Regions from separate parts of the Homo sapiens genome. Here regions 2 and 3 are each linked to region 1. The links are contacts of gene promoters, found by promoter capture Hi-C in blood cells and fetal thymus (Javierre and others, 2016). All regions are on one chromosome and are shown on one strand. Each heading gives the region's core, a stretch centred on a gene start or on the middle of the fragment in contact. The rest is flanking DNA. Distances are from core to core; before and after follow the strand shown.

Evidence for each region. The method cuts DNA at HindIII sites, captures the fragments that hold promoters and counts their contacts. A CHiCAGO score of 5 or more calls a contact.
Region 2: a fragment that was not itself captured here is called in contact with the fragment with the promoter of ZNF689 in region 1 in 2 of 17 cell types (naive CD8 T cells and total B cells); the score reaches 5.4 in naive CD8 T cells.
Region 3: a contact is called between the fragment with the promoter of TBX6 here and the fragment with the promoter of ZNF689 in region 1, in 3 of 17 cell types (naive CD8 T cells, fetal thymus and erythroblasts). The highest score is 5.5, in naive CD8 T cells.

Annotation. Positions count from the first base shown.
Region 1 is chr16:30,607,907-30,612,720 of GRCh38, forward strand. It overlaps ZNF689 (zinc finger protein 689), which reads right to left and starts at 2,483. Exons shown (of 3, transcript NM_138447.3): 1 at 1,931-2,483; 2 at 1,619-1,732. The coding sequence starts at 2,135. LOC124903678 (a long non-coding RNA gene) reads left to right here and starts at 2,568. Exons shown (of 2, transcript XR_007065051.1): 1 at 2,568-2,857. RefSeq lists a silencer at 2,173-2,222 and an enhancer at 2,510-3,479. The HindIII fragment of the contact is 6,999 bases long and covers 1-4,814 here.
Region 2 is chr16:29,973,077-29,977,890 of GRCh38, forward strand. It overlaps TAOK2 (TAO kinase 2), which reads left to right and starts at 792. Exons shown (of 16, transcript NM_016151.4): 1 at 792-1,572; 2 at 4,662-4,814. The coding sequence starts at 4,697. LOC124903762 reads left to right here and starts at 546. Exons shown (of 2, transcript XM_047435036.1): 1 at 546-704; 2 at 921-1,559. The coding sequence starts at 546. The coding sequence ends at 1,559. RefSeq lists a silencer at 482-851 and enhancers at 1,275-2,046, 1,753-1,882, 2,684-3,185, 3,186-3,685. The HindIII fragment of the contact is 200 bases long and covers 2,480-2,679 here.
Region 3 is chr16:30,089,417-30,094,230 of GRCh38, forward strand. It overlaps TBX6 (T-box transcription factor 6), which reads right to left and starts at 2,508. Exons shown (of 9, transcript NM_004608.4): 1 at 2,457-2,508; 2 at 1,660-1,825; 3 at 1,342-1,576. The coding sequence starts at 1,777. It overlaps YPEL3 (yippee like 3), which reads right to left. Exons shown (of 4, transcript NM_031477.5): 4 at 2,898-3,383. The coding sequence ends at 3,294. RefSeq lists enhancers at 972-1,845, 2,978-3,167 and a silencer at 2,498-2,757. The HindIII fragment of the contact is 24,011 bases long and covers 1-4,814 here.

The DNA of each region.
Region 1 (4,814 bases), core at 1,233-3,732:
AGCTGAGATCGTGCCACTGCACTCCTGCCTGGGCAACAGAGCAAGACTCCGTCTCACACACACACAAAAGAGTGTAAGGCAAGATATGGAAACCTATGAGGTATGAGCTAGCAGTGACTGGGTCAAAAGGCCCTCTAAGCCAATGGTTCTCAAACTCCACTGTGATCAGAATCATTGGGAGGATTTACTGAAACAGAATGCCAGGCCCTAGTGCCCGCTTTGGATTCAGCAGGTCTGGGGTAGGGTCCAAGAATGTGCATTTCTAACAAGTTTCCAAATAATGCTGCTTCTGGTCTGAGACCACGCTTTGAGAACCACTGCTGTTAGCATTGTTAAAGACCTTGGACTGTATTTTACCCAATGGTTTTCTTTTCTTTTTTTTTTTCCCCCAAGATGGAGTCTCACTGTGGCACCCAGGCTGGAGTACACTGGCATGATCTCGGCTCACTGTAACTTCCACCTCCCAGGATCAAGCAATTCTCCCTGCCTCAGCCTCCTGAGTAGCTGGAATTACAGGCGCCCACCATAGTGCCCGGCTAATTTTTGTATTTTTTTAGTAGAGACGGGGTTTCACGATGTTGGTCAGGCTGGTCTTGAACTCCGGACCTCAAGTGATCTACCCACCTCGGCCTCCCAAAGTGCTGGGATTACAGGCATGAGCCACCAGCCGGCCGGTTTTCAAACCTAGATGCACATCTGAATCAGCTGAGGCTATTTAAAAAATGGAAGTTCCTAAACATTCACACGAGTGAATGAATAGCTCTGGGATGGGGTCCTGGAACCTGCGTTTTTACCAAGTTCCCCAAGTGATTTAGATATAACCAATGGCCATTTAACAACCTTGGCAAAAATTAACTGAAAAGTTTTAAGCAAGGAAATATCATGGTCAGATCTGAATCTTGGACAGCTATCCCTGGTCTTGAAGAATCTGGCTCTGAAATTCCAGCCCAGACAGCTCCATCTTCTACTATGGGTGGATCTGGGACCCTTCTACCTGAATGGGGTTAAGCAGAGCCTTGTTGGATTCTGAGGAGATTGCAGTATGTCCTTCGCTGATAAGGGTCATCCTGCCGTAAGAGCAGAAAGAGGCCCCTGCATCCCAGGCAGCTGTTCCCCATGAGCTCCCTTCAACCAAAACCCAGAAAACTCTGAGAAGTTTAGGATCTCTTTGGTCCAACTCAAAGGTGGCTAGAGGCAGAGATCCTGGAAAGGAGGCAGAGGGTAGCACCTGTTAAAAGCTCACTGATTCTGGCTGGCTGCAATGGCTCACGCCAGTAACCCCTGCATTTTGGGAGGCCAAGGCAGGAGGATCGCTTGAGGCCAGAAGTTCAAGACCGAACTGAGCAAGACAATGTTTCTACAAAAAAAAAAAAAAAAAAAAAAGACGAAGAATAAGCCCACTGATTCATTCACACAGTGGAAAACTGCAGCTTGCAGACTGACATAGGAATCTCTGTGTGGTGGACCGGCCCCACACCACCAGACACAAGAGGCTGGGAAGATGAATATACTAAATACGCGGCACCCACCCCTAGCCCAACCAAAACTCTGGACAGAGCCGTTAGAGGTAGAACGTTATAGGAGGGCTGCAGGCTCTGCGTGGTTATTTAGCACTCACTTCTCTGGACTGTTAGCCCTCTCGGGTACTCCTGCGGATCTAGAGCAGCCGGTTCCCAGTCATCGGTGTTTCGTTCCAACCAGGAGATGAGGGCTGGTTTGGGACCTGCGCACCCTGGGGAAAGAGAACAAATCAGAAGGCCAGCTCCTAGATCACGCCGAGTAGTATCTCCCCGACGGCACCTCCTGCTAAGCCCCTGCCCACCTCCCCTGACAACCTGGTCGCCTGCCAGGACCGTGGCCTCCCTGCCTACACCCTCTCCGGCTCCTGCATCCCTTCGCGCCCCGCGGCAGCGGATGGGGCCGGCCTCACCGAGCGCGCCCAGGTGACCGTAGGTCTCCCGCATCACGTCCCGGTACAGGGCCCTCTGCGCGGGCCGCAGGCAGCCCCACTCCTCCGGGGAGAAGTACACGGCCACGTCCACGAACTTCAGAGCCCTCGGCCTCCTGCCCCTTTTCCGACTGGGTCTGGCCTTTCCTGGTCCCTGCGCAGGGAGCGGAGCCGAAGGTGGCGCCATGGGACCCGAGAAGCCGGCGCCACGGCCTTCCGTGTCCAGGCCTCGGCCCTCGGGCGCTGGCGGCCCCTGGGATCGAGGAGCCCCTGCCGGACCAGGGCTGAGCGTGGCCGGGGAGGCCCGGAGGGAATCGGAATTGGTCGCCCGCGGGGCTAACGGAAACCTTTTGCTGTTATTCAGGAAACTCCTGCCCGAACTTGGGTGAAAGGCACCGGAAGATGCCTTCGGGGAAAATGGCGGCGCTGCTACCGCACCGCCTTTGCCTGGAACACAGGCAGCTTCCAGCTATCGATTTTATTGACCGGAGCGCCATGCCGGCTTCCTAACCTCTTTGCCCTCAAGTGTAATGGCGCTGCGATTGGGCTTCACGCCGTCTTTTTTCCCCTCCCCAATACGCGCGTTCATTGGACGAGAGCCGAAGATCGAGCGTTCTGATTGGGTGCTAGCAAAGGCGGTCCGTTTGAACGAAGCCAAGAGCTGCATAAGGGCAGGAAGCTGGACTGCTAGGATCAGGCGACTACAAGGAGTTGTGAAGCGACTTGCACCGACCTGGGGGCAGCAAGAGGCCCCGGGGCTGCTTTCCGCTGTTCGACTCTGGCAGGCTCAGCCAATCACTGAAGGAGGGAACGATTTGAGCGATGGAGCCACTCTGGCCGAGTTAGAGCTGAGATTATCCTGAGTTCCTTTTACTGGTGTTCTCAGAGCATCCTTGACTTTGGAGAATGGTTATCTTCTTTGTTTGCCCTTTAGGGGAGGGAATTATGGTTAGCATTTCCTGGGGGCAGGCGCCATGCCCAGCATATTACATATTTCATCTTTATTATTTTTTATTTTTATTTTATTTATTTATTTTTGAGACAGAGTCGTGCTCTGTCGCCCAGGCTGGAGTGCAGTGGCGAAATCTCGGCTCACTGCAGCTTCCACCTCCCACGTTCAAGCGATTCTCCTGCCTCAGCCTCCCGAGTAAGTGAGATTACAGGCGCGTGCCACCACTCCTGACTAATATTCATATTTATTAGCAGAGATGGGGTTTCACCATGTTAGCCAGGCTGGTCTCGAACTTCTGACCTCAAGTGATTCACCCACCTCGGCCCCACGAAGTGCTAGGATTACAGGCGTGAGCCACTATGCCCGGCCTTATTTTTATTTTTTTGAGACAGGGTCTCACTCTGTTACCCGGGCGGGATGGAATGCAGTAGTGCAATCTCAGCTCACTGCAGCCTCTAACTCCTGGGCTCAAGCAATCGTCCTGCCTCAGCCTTCAGAGTAACTGGGACTACTGGTGTGCACTACCACGCCTGGCTAATTTTTTATGTTATTTGTTGAGTCAGGGTTTCCCTGTGTTGCCCAGGCTGGTCTCGAACCCTTAGGCTAAGTGATCCTCCTGCCTCGTCCTCCCAAAGGGCTGGGATTACTGGCATAAGCCACAGCACCGGAGCCATTAGTTATTCGCTTTTTTTTTTTGAGACTGGGTCTCATTCCGTTGCCCAGGCTGGAGTGAAGGCATGCACCCACAGTGCTCTGCTAATTTTTTGTATTTTTGGTAGAGACGGTGTTTCGCCATGTTTCCCAGGCTGGTCTCGAACTCCTGAGCTCAAGCAATCCGCCCACCTCGGTCTCCCAAAGTGCTGGGATTACAGGAGTGAGCCACCACACCCAGCCCGTTATTAATTCTTTACTAGCATTTTGTGAACCAATGGTTATCATCCTGGTTCTACTAATGAAGAAACGATCTCAGAGGGATTCCATGAGTTTCCAGGGCCATACTGCTAGTAAGGAGTGGGGAATAAAGATTTAAACCTGGGGCAGACAGAGCCTTTATTCATACCACTGATAGGCATCCTTCCTTCACAGTATCCTAATTTGCTTGCTAAACCAGGAATCCACCTGAGCTCTTGTTTTCTTCTCAAGTTCAATATTCTGCATAATCTCCCTACATTATTTTCACGTGACATTTGTTCAACGTACAAAGCATAGTGCTAGGCAATTGGGAGAGCGTACATAAATAAGTCATAGGCCATGCTTTGAATGGAGCTTACAGTCTAGTAAAGCATATAAATTCACAATGAATCATAACAGAATGATACAAGCATGTATGTGAAAGGCACTGAACTGAAAATTGCTGATGGAACAAGCCAGCACCCACCCCATTAGCCTCCACATTTTTTTTTTTTTTTTTTTTTTGAGACGGAGTCTCGCTCTGTCACCCAGGCTGGAGGGCAGTGGCGCCATCTCGGCTCACTGCAAGCTCCGCCTCCCGGGCTCACGCCATTCTCCTGCCTCAGCCTCCCGGGTAGCTGGGACTACAGGCGCCCGCCACCACGCCCAGCTAATTTTTTGTATTTTTAGTAGAGACGGGGTTTCACCATGTTAGCCAGGATGGTCTTGATCTCCTGACCTCGTGATCCACCCGTCTCAGCCTCCCAAAGTGCTGGGATTACAGGCGTGAGCCACTGTGCCCAGCCCTTTTTTTTTTTTTTTTTAGACGGAGTCTTGCTCTGTTGCCCAGGCTAGAGTGCAGTGGTGCAAACTCGGCTCACTGCAACCTTGGCCTCCCGGGTTCAAGTGATTCTCCTGCCTCAGCCTCCCGAGTAGCTGAGATTACAGGCACCCGCCACTTTGCTCGGCTAATTTTTGTATTTTTAGTAGAGACGGGATTTCACCATCTTGGCCAGGCTGGTC
Region 2 (4,814 bases), core at 1,330-3,829, 630 kb before region 1:
GGATTGAGGTGGGGATTTTAGGGTAGGCAGGCTTAGAAGTTTTGGGGGACTCTTTCCTGTTGACTCTCTAGTTTGGACACAGGTTGGCATAGGGCATAGGTTACTTGAGCTCTCCCCATGGTTGACTTGGCTTTGGTAAACACCTGTCTTGTTTTCTTCTACGAAATAAAATGGATAATTACAGTTAGTTGGGCGGGTGGGGTGTCAGGTCATGGAAATGCTGTGACATAAATGCACTGTGACCTTGGCAAGTCTTGCAACCTGCAGCGCCTCAATTTCCGTAAGAGATTTGACCGATTGAGTTTTCCCAGCGTCGACGCGCAAAGATTCCTCGCACTTGGAGGCCCTTTTCCAGGTTAGATGGTTGCTAACCTCGGAGCAGTCTATTTTCCCGCCTTTTCCGCGCCCAGCAGCAGCTTCCTTTGCCCCTCCCAACTTCCACCCTGCGCGCAGTCGCAGATCGCCGCTGCTGTCCGTCCACCCGCGCCCCCTCAAAGCTTCCCCTAGCAACAAGCTCGGGCTCAGAGCGAAGGCGGGGCGAGCGCATGCGCTGCAGCTCTGTCCACCGCCAGTCGTGGGACAGAGTGCCGGGCTCCTCCCCTTGCAAGTCTAGCTCTTCTCCCCGCCTCCTCCGGCCTGGGGTCCGCGTGGCGGGGCGGGCGCGCACTCGGGCTTGGCGGCTGCCGGTCTCCCAGGCCGCGGCAGTGAGGAGAGAGGGCGGGGCTGAGTCCTCTGCGCCCCCGCCCCCTTTAGCCCGGCGTCCCTACCGCGCCTGCGCGCTCCCGCCCGGTCTCCATCTTGGAATTGGGAGGAAGAGGGAGAGGGAGACCGGGACGAGACCGGGGCTGTGGTGCGGAGAGAGGCTGAGACGGAGAAGAGGAGAGGCAGAGAGGGCGCGGGGACCGTCAGCAGCACCTTAGCTACAATCGTTCAGCTATTCTCGGAAGAGAGAAGGGAGAGGGAGGAGGCCGGGGCGGGAGTGGGGGCTGTCACCCTCGGACCCCGGCGTGAGAGGGGCCGTGCGGCCGGACGTCCTCGGGGTGGGCCCCCAGTCGGTGGCCGAAGACCTACAGCTCAGGCCCCTGGGTCCCAAATTTCCAGGCTTTGCCCCTCCTCCTTTCTCAGATACCCGGGTAACAGTCCTCATAGTCCAGATATCCGGGACTCGGGTCCCAACCTCTCTAAACCTGGGTCTCTGTTTCATAGAATTTCAAATATCAGGTTCAGGCCCCTGCGTGCACCAGTATCCGGGGTTCATTCCCCGGGCGTTCAAATATCGGATTCAGTCTCCATCCCGTTCAGATATTCGGGGTTCAGACCCCACAATCAGAAATCCGGAATTCGGCAGCTGTCGCCCTCGACGAGGGGGAGGACTGGACCGCGAGGTCAGATTAGGTTGTCACCCCCTCCCCTCCAGGGGAGGCTTCCCGGGCCCGCCCCTCAGGAAGGGCGAAAGCCGAGGAAGAGGTGGCAAGGGGAAAGGTCTCCTTGCCCCTCTCCCTGCTTGGCAGAGCCGCTGGAGGACCCCAGGCGGAAGCGGAGGCGCTGGGGCACCATAGTGACCCCTACCAGGTGAGACACGGGGTGCAGGGGCGCGGGTCCCTGTGTCTAGTTCTGAGAAGAAAGGGTGCGCCTTTCTGAGAAGCTGGACTTGGGTAGGCCCTCTCAGGATGGGGAAGCCCAGCTGAGCGAGTGGTCAGCCTCTGGCTAGCCTTGCCTTCTGTTGCCACCCCCTTCCCCTTCCTCTTCCCTTCATTGTGTCTGGTTGGTGGGGGACCTCAGGTGACAGGGTCTCTGATGTCACCGGCGTTCACACCCTAGGGTGCTTCAGCTAATCAGATGGATTTGCACTTCAGTCTTCTCTCCTTCACTTTGCCCCTCACAGCCACCTCTCCTCCCTGATATGTCCCGTTCTCCTGGCTATTCTGTGGTTTTGATTCCCATGCCTCTGATTCCCATGGTGGGTCTGCTTATCTGCTTTTCAGGCCTGGTCTGGTTGGATTTCTTGTCCTTGCAAGGAAGTGTGTGTATATGTGTTTGTGTGTATGCGTGTGTGTGTGTGCTTGGAGGTGCCTGGCAATGTTTTCCCCCAGCTGCAGTTACCTTCCAACCTCTTGCTGTGATGGTGTCAATAATCTCATCCATTTGTCAAACGATCTGTCTTTTACAAAGTGCTTTGACAGCCATTCTCTCATGTGACATCCCCGCATTCACCCTGTGGGGGCCTCTTTTATTGGCATCTTCCCATTTTACAGTTGAGAACGTTGAGGCCGAGAGAGGTTGCCCAAGGTCACACAGTGGCAGAACCAGAATTTGAACTCAAGTCCTCAATCACATCTTTCCCTGATGCATGCCTGGTTCTTGCCATCTCTTTTCCTCTGAGTTTGGGCTCGGCCAGGGGTCCCTAGGAGTCCAGGCTGGGGTGAGGTTTAAGAATGGGGATGAGATGAGCTTCCTTTCCAGGAGGGCTCTACTCAGAAGCTTTTCCTGATGGGAGCCTCTGGCTTTTGCCTCTGCCTCATGGAGTTTTCTATCCACTGTGACCTTCATCTTTACCCCAATCCCAGGGTTTGGCCTGGATTCCTGAGAGGGCTCTCTCCTGACAAATGGTAGCACTAGTGGCATCTTTTAACTGTTCAAGCCAAGCTGTTGGGGTAGAATGATCCCCCAAAGGATTAAAGCTTTGTGGGGACCTTGGAGGCAGGGAAGGAAAAATCCATATGCTGAGTGTCTGCATGGTGTTCCTAAGTATGAGATCTCATTAAAATCTTAACAACAGCTCCATGCTGTAATCCATTTCACTGAAGAGAAGACCAAGAACTGGAAGGAACTTATTTAAAGCCCTGTTGCTGTACATTGCAGACGGGATGTACTGGTAGCATAGCTTAGGAACAGATAGATACGGGTTTCCTCATCTGTAGAATGGAGATAACATTGTTCGTTTTGGAAGGTGGTTATGATTTAGCACAGACCTTGGTTATTGTTCAAGTGTTTGTTGTTATTATGGGGAAGGGGACCTGCATGATGTTTTGCCAGTGGGTGGCACCCCTCCGTGTGGCCTAGGTTAGCATTCTGGGGCCTTGTGTTGGTAAAGAGGTCAGGAAGATTCCTTTGGCAAGTTGAGAGCACCTGCCTTTGTGTGTGGGTGTGTGGTGCTGGTGAGGGGTGCTTGGCACTGTTGCTGGCAGAAGGGAGAAAAGGGCCGGCTTTGAGCAACCTGCGAGCTGCTGAGGGCTGAGCAGAGAGCAATCACTCAGTCTCCCAGGCTATTCTGAGCCCTCTGCACCCTGGGGGCCCACTGGAGAGTCAGGCTCCCTCCTTGCCCTCCAGCTTCCAGTTGGGCTGAGACAAAATTAACAACACAACAGGAAACAATGCATGACAGAATAAATTACATGCTAAAATTGTTAGGTGCTTTTGAGTAGCTAGAACTCTGCCCCAGGAGTCCAGCTCTGCTGAAGGCTCCTTTGTGCCTAAATTCTGACAAGTGCTTAGGCTGGAGCCTGTCTTGGAATCTCCTTGAGGGTTTTGGTTCTGGTATCCTGCAGGAACTTTCTCCGGGTGTTTGGTTGGGTGCCCTAGGTGCTCTTCCCAATGGCTGGAGTGGTCAGGACAGGCTTCCTGCAAGAGGGGAGCTGAGCTTGGGGTGACAGCTGAGAGAGTAATGGATACAGGCCTAACCGGGGAGCCGAAGGTCCTGTTCTCTGACCTTGGAGAAGTCCTTTTTCTTCTCTGTGCCTCAGTGACCTCACCTAGGAAATGGTGATCATGATTCTGCCCTGCCTGTTTCGAAGGGCTGCTCTGAAATCATAGTGATGGAGGACCAGCTTTGGACAAGGCACTTAACCTTGCTGAGCCTGTTTCTTTATCTGTAAGATAGGGGAAATCATAGTACTTGCTTCATAAGGTTGTAGTGAGGACTGAATAGAGATAATGCACGTAAGGTACTCAGTAAATGTTATTTGTACCCTGCAAATGTCCTGTACCTGTGTGTGATGCTTATGCAGTTGGACAGGACAAGTAAGGTGGCCCAGAGCACAGAGAGGCCCTCATAGCCAGATGCCATTTATATCCCTATTCTTCCCATTCTAGATCTCCCCCTGACTTTTTTGAGAGTGACTTTGCGGGCTCCTCTGGGCCAGTACCCACTTCTAACAATGGACGGATTTCCACCGCCTCCGGCCTGGCCATTTCCTGTTCTCTTCCAGGGTGTGAGAGGTTGAGGGAGGAGGGGGCCTCAGCGCCAAGGGGAACAGAAAGGTGCCTGGAAACAGTTGGGGTATAGGACTTATGGGACAGGACACTTGGGGCTCTGGAGTGCTGGCTGGGAAGCAGAATGTTTTATCCTTGAGGGGAGATACAGGGGCTATAGGGAAATGAGAACTTGTTGAGCACTGAAGGGGGTGGTGAGGATACTTAGCTTCCCAGAATCTTCCTAGCAGTTTTAGGGACTCCAGGGACCCAGCCCGCGTGATCTGGTTGCCAGGGCAACTTCATTTTTTGGAGCTTTGATGTTGTTCCTAATCTCCCCCTCCCCTTCCTCAGCAGTGCCTCCTCCTCATCAGGGAATGAGGGGAGGAGATGGCAGAAACTTGATGGGTCCCTTCCTCTCCCTGAAGGCTCAATCCTTGATCTCTAAGGGTCCCATTTCCATTCCTCAGGCCAGGCCCCACTCTCAGGGCCCCCAGGGGCCACCATGCCAGCTGGGGGCCGGGCCGGGAGCCTGAAGGACCCAGATGTGGCTGAGCTCTTCTTCAAGGATGACCCAGAAAAGCTCTTCTCTGACCTCCGGGAAATTGGCCATGGCAGCTTTG
Region 3 (4,814 bases), core at 1,258-3,757, 520 kb before region 1:
TTGAGTCAGGAATTCAAGACCAGCCTGGGCAACATAGAAAGACCCCATCTCTACAAAAAAATTAAAAAATTAGCCAGGCATGGTGGTGCACACTGATAGTCCCAGTTACTACAGAGGCTGAGGCGGGAGGGTCACTTGAGCCTGGGAAGTCAAGACTACAGTGAGCCACAATTGCACCACTGCACTCCAGCCTGGGCAACAGGGCAAGACACTGTCTCTGAAAAATGAAAAAGGGCCAGGCGCAGTGGCTCATGCCTGTAATCTCAGCACTTTAGGAAGCCGAGGTGGAAGGATCATGAGGTCAGAAGTTTGAGACCAGCCTGGCCAATATGGTGAAACACCGTCTCTACTAAAACTACAAAAATTAGCCGGGTGTGGTGGTGTGTGCCTATAGTCCCAGCTACTCGGGAGGCTGAGGCAGGAGAATCGCTTGAATCCAGGAAGCAGAGGTTGCGGTGAGCTGACGAGATCGTGCCACTACACTCTAGCCTGGGCAACAGAGCGAGACTCCATCTCAAAAAAAAAAAAAAAAAAAAAAAGAAGCCAGAGGGCGGAATCTTAGAGCTGGAAGGTTTTCTTGTCTCATTTTACATTTGGGGAAACAGGACAGACGGGTTAAGTGATCTGTCACACAGCAGGTTAGGAACAGAGCCATGACTCCTACCCCTCAAAGCCTATTTGCAGAAGCAGGGGTGACTAACTTTCTTGCTAGGAGCTTCCTGTCCCCACCCTCCTCTCCTCCCCTGATCTCCAGCACCAGAATCTGCAGCTCTTAGATGAATTTGCTTTAGAAAAAATATACCCTGCCTGCAGTAGGGCCGAGGACTTTCCATGCTAGGGCTTGAGTTCCTGCCCCAGCTAAAGACCTCATCTAAGGTCAAACACTGACCGTGTCCCTGCCTCTAGGGTGACCCTGGACCTAGTCATATACTGACTCCTATTCGAGTTGCATACTGATCCCGAATCCTGGCCAGATTTCCCTGATGCTGGTCAATGGGCTGGCCCTTGACCCCCTGTCCTTGTCTGGATGCTGGTCTAAGCCACACACTAACCTATAACCCAGAGGGACTTCCTGACCCTGCCCCAGACTGACCCATGACCCTTGCCATAGATTGGTCCCTAAACTCAGCCACAGACTCCACAGACTGGCCCTTAACCCTTGTCACAGAGTGACTCCTGATTCCTGCCACAGAGTAACCCTTGCCCCAGGCCATAGTCAGATTCTAGGCCTAGGCAGAGCTCTAGCCCCTCGGGAACCACCCAGTCCTAGCCCCCTCCCCAGGGACTCTGCCTTTCCCAAGAGACCCCCACCAGAAACACGGACCCTGGCCAGCCCCTCACCTCCCAGCTTTGGTGATGATCATTTCTGTTCCCACAGAGCTGAACTCCTTCCATAGCTCCCGGTTCTCCAGGCTCAGGCTGACCCCCGGGAGGGAATGGAGGGCCTCTGGAGCTGATGGGGCCGGCTCAGTGCCCATGGCAGGGGGCAGAAGGGGCAGAGGTGGGTGCGCGGCCAGGGTGCGGGGAGCAGCCTCCATCCCGGAGAGGAAGCAATCCAGTTTAGGGGTGTCCAGTTCTGGAAGCCGGGGAAGAATGAGGAGCCAGCCGAGGGCCACAGCCCCCCTATTCTCCTACCCAGGAGCTGGTCCCAACGCTCACCGGGGTAGCGGTAGCCCTCCGCTAGGGCGGGTGGGAAGCTGGAGTCGGCCCCAGGTTGGGCGGGCCCCAGGCGGTAGCCGGCCCCCAGGGACGGGTACAATTCTCGTGGATGGTACATGTTGTAGTTCCGTCTGGCCTCAGGTCTCGCTGCTTAGGGCCCCCGGTGCTGCGAGATGCCCCCTTTATAGCTCACAGCTCAGCCCCTTCCAGATCCAGGATCACAGCCCCTCCCCTCTTTGGGGCCCTGGAGTTGGGCTGGGGTGGAGACCCCTGGGGCCTCGAAGGGGTCCGAGAGGGGGTCGGATACCTGGGTACGGTCCCCTCCTCCCCTCCCTCCCCACCCCGGGAGGCTTCATTAGCCTCGACCCCCTGCCCCCTCATTACATAATTAACTCCTCGGCTTGATTGATCCCCAGGGCTCGGACAGGGACGCAGTTTGGCGCTTCCGGCCAGCTGGTCCCCGTTCCCACGGTGGGGAGCCCCGGCTAGGGATAAGCTGGGGGGCGGGGCCTGGAACCTGGACGGAGCCAAGAGTCCCGGGACACACCTTGGCGCCCCAGACCTTCTGGCAGGTGACCGCCCTCCGCCCCCCTTCACTTGGAGGCCGGGCCCTGGAGGGAAGCAGCGTGAACAGAGGGAAAGTGCAGGCTAGAGGGACGCGGCCTGAGCTGATTTCACAGGGCACTCGGGGCCGCGAGGAGGCCGCAGCCCAGTCCCGAGCACCGTAGTCCTCCCTGGTCCCCATGCTAAAAAAACCTCCATCCCGAGCCAAGCCTCCAAAGTTCGAAGGCGCTCACAGTCCGACAGCTTCTGACGCCTCGCGCCAGGGTTTCCCGAAGGTCCCGCGCTGGGGAACCCTCGGAACTACACTTCCCGGCAGGCTCAGCGCTGAGGCGCGCCCGAAGGAGCCGGACGGACCACGCGGGGGCCGCTGGGAGTTGCAGTCCGACCGCGAGGGGGCTGCGAGGCCGGCGGCGCGGTTGCCTCCCTGGGACGCTGCCCCTAGGCGGCGGCCAAACGCTGCAGATGAGCAGACGCAGATCAGCCGAGGTCACGGCGTAGGCAGCCAGAGTGGGCTCAGGACCTCCGCCAGCAGTGAAACCGTCCCGGTTCCCGGAGACCCAGCTTGGACGGCTGTGCCTACCCCATGCCCCGCCGGGGCTCAGAACCGCACAGGTCTATAGGGGCGGAAATCTCCGCTTGAGCTCCCCCTTCCCGGATTACACGCGAGCCTGAGCTGTCTCCACTCCATTGTTTTATTATGTACAAACGCTACAGAACGAGGGGGACAGACACGCGTGGGGTAAGAAGGGCCTGGTGGGAGGAGTTCACAGAGCAGACGGTGCACTGGGACCAGGAGAGCAGAACACAGGCCATAACTATAGGGCAGGTGGGGCAGGAACGGGTTAAAAACGAGATCCAAGCCAGCCAGATCGCAGGAGGTGCGGGGGCGTCGTCCCCCTTCTGTTCTCCCCCCAAGGTCACAGTGCATGCAATAAAATATATATACAGGAGCTAGATCCGTCCTCTGCAGGGGCTCTGAGGGTCCAGAGCTCCCTTCGGGTGGCGGGAAGCCAGTGGCGCTCCCTGGCGGCCAGGCCGGGCTGGAGCCACATGCGTCGGGGGAGCGGGGGTCAGTCCCAGCCGTTGTCTTTGATCATGTGGTTGAGTTCAATGATGTACTTCCCCTCTTTGTACTTCTGGCTGCTCTCAAAGGCCTGTTCCTGAAAGGAGGGGCGGGACCGTCATCCCCGGAGCAACAGTCTCACCACAAGGCACTGGGGTTGGGAAGTGGACATGAGTGGCCCCATTTTACATATGAGGAAACTGTGGCCCAGAGGGGCAGGGCCGTATTTCTCACAAACACAGAGTAGAATAGAACTCCCTGACTCAAAGGTACTTTTTTAAGTACTAATGATGGCTCCAACAGAGAAGATAGGGAAGTGGCTAAAAGATTTCACAGTTCAGGGTTTGCAAACTGGTAGCTTCATGGCCATTTTGGCCTACAACATGTATTATGTTTGGACAGCAGACAGTTTAATAAAAATAACTTTAAAGTATTAAAATATAAGTAGGCCTTGCTCACTCCAGTTTGCCCAGCCTGCCCCCAACTCCCAACCCTGCCAATCTATGCTACCCTTTACACATCTACAGTATCTGCTTGGCCTTGCAGGCACTTGAGGTTTTTTTGTTTGTTTGGTTTTGAGAGGGAGTCTTGCTCTGTCGCCCAGGCTGGAAGTGCAACGGCGCGATATCGGCTCACTGCAACCTCCGCTTCCCGGGTTCAAGTGATTCTGCTGCCTTGGCCCCGAGTAGCTGGGATTACAGGCGCCCACCACCACGCCGAGCTAATTTTTGTATTTTTAGTAGAGATGGGGTTTCACCATGTTAGTCAGGCTGTTCTCGAACTCCTGACCTCAGGTGATCCACCTGCCTCAGACTCCCAAAAGTGCTGGGATTACAGGCGTGAGCCACCACACCCAGCCTGGCACTTGAGTTTTTGACCTCTTGTTTAGGCCAGCTCTTTATTAATTATTATTATTTTTGAAACGGAGTCTCGCTCTGTCTCCGCTCACTGCAAGGCTCTGCCTCCTGGGTTCACGCAATTCTCCTGCCTCAACCTCATGAGTAGCTGGGACTAGAGGCGCCCGCCACCACACCCAGCTGATTTTTTTTTTTTTTTTTTGTATTTTTGGTAGAGATGGGGTTTCACCGTGTTAGCCAGGATGGTCTCAATCTCCTGACCTTGTGATCCACCCGCCTCGGCCTCCCAAAGTGCTGGGATTACAGGTGTGAGCCACTGTGCCTGGCCGGCCAGCTCTTTATTTGGTAGAGGTCCAGAGTGGCCAAGCCACCTGTCCAGAGACACACAGCCAATCTGTGGCAGGGTCAGCAGCGAGCTCAGGTCAGGGCTGGCTGGCTGGCTCTGCCTGGGACATCCACCTCACAGAGGCACCACAGTTCCAAGCGACGCCTGAAGAATCCTGTCCCTTGCAGTGTCCCAAGAGCATCTTCCTGAGCATCTAATCTGATCCCTGTAACAATCCTGGGTGCTAGGCAGTGGCTTTATCTTCCACTGAGAGATAAGGAAATGAGACTCAGGGTAGTGAAATCAGACCCTGGACAGCAGCAGTGGCAATGAGGACTATGGAAAG